2 separate regions of the Homo sapiens genome follow, and region 2 is linked to region 1. The links are contacts of gene promoters, found by promoter capture Hi-C in human tissues and cell types (Jung and others, 2019). All regions are on one chromosome and are shown on one strand. The core of a region is centred on a gene start or on the middle of the fragment in contact, and the rest is flanking DNA. Distances in the headings are between cores, read along the strand shown. Region 1 overlaps PRKCA (protein kinase C alpha). Region 2 holds the start of PSMD12 (proteasome 26S subunit, non-ATPase 12).

Region 1 (2,690 bases), core at 128-2,627:
AGTGAGCCAAGATCGTGCCACTGCCCTCTGGCCTGGGTGATAGAGTGAGACCCTGTCTCGAAAAAAAAAAAAAAGACAGTGGTCCTGTCCTGGATTCACCGGCTTCCCACACGACAGAGAGAAGGCTGAGTGCTTTGATGGCTGAGGAGGACACTCGCTCTGCTCTGTCTCTCGGCTTATTTCCCACCACTCCCTCCGCCTCGGTCCCAGCCATGCCAGCCTGCCGCAAGCTCCCACCTGTCTCCTGCCTTGGGACGCCAGCTCCGCCCTTCCCTCTTCTGCTGTTCACAGTCATCCTCCACAGTGGTCTTCCTGAAACCCCAACACTCCTTCCTTCTCCCAGTTAGCTTTCTTCCCGGAAACCGTTGCCACCTGACTGCAAGTCTGGGAGGGCAGGGGTCTTGCTGTTCTGTTCACCTTCAAAGTCCAACTCAAGTGCCTCCTTTTGGTTTCTCTGGAATTTCCAACCTGCAGCAGACAGGGCCCCACCCGTATCCCCTGAGCTTTCTGTCCTGCACACCTGCGAACACCTGAGCTTTCTGTCCTGCACACCTGCGAACACCTGCGCTTTCTGTCCTGCACACCTGCGAACACCTGAGCTTTCTGTCCTGCACACCTGCGAACACCTGAGCTTTCTGTCCTGCACACCTGCAAACACCTGAGCTTTCTGTCCTGCACACCTGCGAACACCTGAGGGTTCCATTCAGACCACTCCTGCAGAGGGAGCCCGAGGTGCCCGAGTTATGGGAACAGGAAGCCTGTTCCAGAATGTTCTTCCAGCTCACAAGAAGACCGAGCTCCAGCTGCCCACAGTGGTCATCAGCTTGAGAACACAACCTTGGCTAGGTCCTACCCTTACCTGGCTCCCATCTCTACTCCCCACCCATGTCTCCTGGGATCCCTTCAGGAATGAACTTCTCAAAACCATGGGGCTACGTCAGCTTCTGGGGAACTTAACACACATTCCTTCTTGGAATTTTTTTTTTTTTTTCTAGACAGGGTCTCACTCTGTCGCCCAGGCTGGAGTGCAGTGGCATGATCATGGTTCACTGCAACCTCAACCTCCTGACCTCAAGTGATCCGCCCATCTCAGCCTCCTGAGTAGCTGGGACTACAAGCATACATCACCACACCCAGCTAATTTTTTTTTTTTTGTAGACATGCGGTTTTACCATGTTGCCCAGGCTGGTCTCAAACGCCTGAGCTCAAGTGATCCACCCACCTCAGCCTCTCAAAGTGCTGGGATTATAGGTGTGAGCCACCACACCCAGCCTCTTCTTCTTGGATTTATTGATCTGTCTTCCTCACTAGCCTGTGAGATCCTAGGAGGTAAGGACCAAGTCTTACTCAAGTTTGTATCTTGAGACCAAGCACTATATCAGGCACATGCATTCAAAACTCAGAGTTCTCTCTCTCATTCATTCACATTTGTGCTCATTAAGCACTAAGACTGACAGAACTGACAGAGGCCAACTTGTAGCCAGCACTAGTTGGCCAGATGACAAACTAACATAAAAAGGCAGCTGATAGTCAGGTGAGCTGGTGCAGACAAGCAGCCCAGAACTCCATGCATTTGCACCTTCATACATAATCTGAACTCCTTCTCTCAAGCAATCACTGTTCATGCTGGGACAGCCACAGAGAAGTGCTGGGAGGGCTCTCTGCCTTTAGGGTGGTTGGCCACATGATGACCCTCCCCAGAGGCCACACGAGACTAGTTAGCCAGGCCAGCAAGCTGAAACCATGCCCTTGGAAGGGTTTCTCTGAAGGGCTATTCCTCTGCTGAGAAGTCTGGCTTGCCCAAGATCCAGCTGGGATCTCTGGCTCAAGAGCAACAGTGAGCCCTGAGCTGACCATTTTTCTTTCTCTGAGCTTTTTAATGTATTGTTTGGCAACTGGCCTCCCAGCAGAATTAAGAGACCTGCCCTTCCTGGCTTGCATATTGTTGACATAACTCTAGTTGTCATGACTATAATTCAGACTTCACCAGGAGTGCAAATAAAATCAATATACGTCTAGGGATAAAGCTGAAGCTAACAGCCTAACTGCAGAGATTTCAGAAAACCTGAGGAAGCAGAAGAGTAAGTGTGCTGGCATCCTTTACTCCAGCAATACAAACACGGCCCAACGTGGCCAGACGCCCTGCTGGGGGCCTGAGCAAATGGAAAATTCTGAATGCAGAGGATGAAATGCAGAAACACAGAATGTCCCCTGAAGATGAATGAATGCTCAGAGCAGAGCATGCACTGGGCTGCTGACCTCAAGCAGATATTAACTCATTAGAAACGCTCCTGCTGATGTGTCCCAAATCTTGAGTCCATCTCACTCATTTCCAAGTTAGGTAAAGAAAGCGGTGGGGGACCAGGCTCTGAGCAGCAGTCCACAGGCTGGAGACCCCCATGGCTCTCAGTGCTGCCATCCTCCTGTGAAACTGTCCTCCACCCCTGCACCAGGAGGAATCTCCTTTCAGCTCTGATGATGTCTGTTCAGTTCTTTTTTTTTTTTTGAGATGGAGTCTCGCTCTGTCGCCCAGGCTGGAGTACAGTGGCGCGATCTTGGCTCACTGCAACCTCCACCTCCCGGGTTCACACCATTCTCCTGCCTAAGCTTCCCAAGTAGCTGGGCACTGGTCCTAGGACCAGCAGCATCAGCTAGAGGCTTGGCAGAAATGCAGACTCTTGGGCCCCATC
Region 2 (2,690 bases), core at 66-2,565, 640 kb before region 1:
TACAAAAATAAAAAAAAGGTAAAATTTGTTTCTCCTCTACATTACAGATTATAGCTGAGATATTGTCTTATTTTGCTTGTAGATGGTTTATATTTTCCCTGATTTTCATTGCAGTTAAAACAAACAAAGAGATCTATTCAGCATCTATAAAGCGATGTCGGCACTAATTAAATTGAGAACCACTAACATAATAGATAAACCACTCCAAGATTTCCCGTTTTCCTGTTTGCTTTCCAGGCTGCTGTTGACCATATGCCCACACCAAACACAACCTCATTCCCATTTTCTTTACTTTTCTTTTTCTTTTTTTTTTTTTTTTTTGAGACGGAGTCTTGCTCTGTCGCCCAGGCTGGAGTGCAGTGGCGCAATCTCGCCGGCTCACTGCAAGCTTCGCCTCCTGGGTTCACGCCATTCTCCTGCCTCAGCCTCCCGAGTAGTTGGGACTACAGGTGCCCGCCACCACGCCCGGCTAATTTTTTGTATTTTTAGTAGAGACGGGGTTTCACCGTGTTAGCCACGATGGTCTCGATCTCCTGACCTCATGATCCGCCCGCCTCAGCCTCCCAAAGGGCTGGGATTACAGGCGTGAGCCACCGCGCCCGGCCTCATTCCCATTTTCAAGGATCCTAAGCTTTTTTAAGATCTCAAGCTATTTTCTAGGGACCAGCATGGTATGAATGATAACACATAAAACGTGTAAGGCCCTTAAGAATTGAAATTGTCTCACATGTCATCTAGTTTGATGCTCACGAAAATCCTATAGGGATAACAAATATGTCTTTTTAACTTTTCTTTTTACCAACTTAGTGGATTACAGTGAAAATGAAAACAAAGAGAAAAACCACTTTGCTTATTAAATGACTGAGCTGCTGCCATATCTTCTCTTAGGAGCTTTCAGAGATCCCACAGAGTAAGCCACCAAGATTCTCAAGTAGATAAAACCTTAGAATTTTCTATTTTAAGGTTTATTTTAGCCTCCTGATGTAGAGATGAGAAAACCGAGATCCAAGAAAAGCGACTGGCCACGGTCCTGAGAAATCATATTTCGAAGCAGGGGTGTAGGGATATATGAGATGGTCTGTTCTATTACACTCGCTTTTCTCATCGCAAATTTTAGGTAAAAAGTCTGATGTTCCCAGAGACAAAACCTGACGCTGCAGGCTGGAGTGGCGAGTCCCGCCCCGCGCGCCTCAAGCCCCACCCCCAGGCTGTCCGCGGCAGTGCCTGAGTGGCAACCAGCGCCGGGGACCTCGAGGGGTCCTTTGCGTGGGCTCCCGATGGGCTGCCTGAGCGGGTGCGCGGGCAACTTCCGGTGTGGGTGACGAGTGGTGGCCGAAGCAGGGGGACAGCAAGGGACGCTCAGGCGGGGACCATGGCGGACGGCGGCTCGGAGCGGGCTGACGGGCGCATCGTCAAGATGGAGGTGGACTACAGCGCCACGGTGGATCAGCGCCTACCCGAGTGTGCGAAGCTAGCCAAGGTGAGGAGAGGCCGGCTGGCTGTTGGCGGGCGCCAGGGGCTGAGTCACGGCGCGGAGCCTGCTTAGGCCTCAGGGGGCCTGCGGGCTGGAGCGTGCACCCCCCAATGCCTGTCCAGCCCTAGTTGGGCCTGCACGAGTGGGAGACCCCAGGTCGGCCCGGCCAGGGCTGCGGAGTACGCCAGCGCCTATAGCTTCCCAGACCCTCCCCAAAACAGATGGTCACTTCCCTCCGTGGGACTTAGGGCTCCGTTTAACTTTTTGCCGTTTCTTGGATGCTGTTTAAGTGATATTTACCTTAGTAGTTTCCCAGGGGTTAAGGCCGCTTCAGTATTAAGGCTAGATCAGAGAGTTTCGTTCTGTTGCTGTTGCTCAATCAATTTATGTCGTTACATCGTTTGTGGATCATGGCTATGTGCCTGGTCTTTGGCCAGGAGAAGGGGCAGGAAAGTGATAGTACGAAGATGACTAACACAGGACCCTGTCCTTTAGGAGTTGATGTACGTGATGAATTAGTCAAGTCATGCATGGTGGTGAGGGCCATACAAGGGGAAAGTGTTACTGGAACACCGAGAAGGAAGCTATGCATTCTTAATGGTGCCATAAGGGAAGGTTTTACAGGAAGGCTGACGTTTGTATTGGGTCTTGAGGAATTAGTAAGATTGAGGTGGGGTGGAGTCATTACTGAAGACGGAACTACAGAAGTAAAGACAAGTAGGCACTATAAGAGTTTAACGGGCTTTCCAAGAAACAAGGATGGAGAAAGGTGATAAAGTTGGTACGTATGTATATCTTAGGTTCAGTATGCTTGCTGAGGGGGAGCCACAAATTCATTAAGAGCTTTCTAGCAGCTAGCATCAACAAACATCAGTTACATAAGGGTGGGAAAACTCAGCCGCCTCCAATGCCAGACAGATAACAATAACTGATATTTGTTGAGTAGTTTCTGCAGTGTCAGGCACCGTGCTTACATGCACTAAGCCATTTGATCCTCACCTCAGCCCTATGCGATGGCTATTACTATTATCCTTATTTTACAGGTAAGAAAACTTGGGCTAGAAAAAGTTGAATCACATGCCCCAAGATCATACAGCTAGTAAAGTGGTGAAGCCAAGAAGCAAACCCAGGCAGACCGATTCTAGATTCTGGAGCTGGTGCCCTCACACACCATGCTGTCCTGCCTAGAAGCCTATTGTAGTGAAAACCTGAACTT

The links. Contacts are between HindIII fragments. The study calls those that stand out against the background at their distance.
Region 2: a contact is called between the fragment with the promoter of PSMD12 here and a fragment that was not itself captured in region 1, in 1 of the 25 tissues and cell types used here (dorsolateral prefrontal cortex).

What each region holds. Positions count from the first base shown.
Region 1 is chr17:66,724,112-66,726,801 of GRCh38, reverse strand. All of the region lies in intron 8 of PRKCA (protein kinase C alpha), which reads right to left. Among named protein-coding and RNA genes, the nearest start is that of MIR634, 62 kb to the left of the region's middle. The HindIII fragment of the contact is 6,740 bases long and covers 1-2,690 here.
Region 2 is chr17:67,365,202-67,367,891 of GRCh38, reverse strand. PSMD12 (proteasome 26S subunit, non-ATPase 12) reads left to right here and starts at 1,315. Exons shown (of 11, transcript NM_002816.5): 1 at 1,315-1,480. The coding sequence starts at 1,373. RefSeq lists enhancers at 1,110-1,419, 1,440-1,499. The HindIII fragment of the contact is 13,722 bases long and covers 1-2,690 here.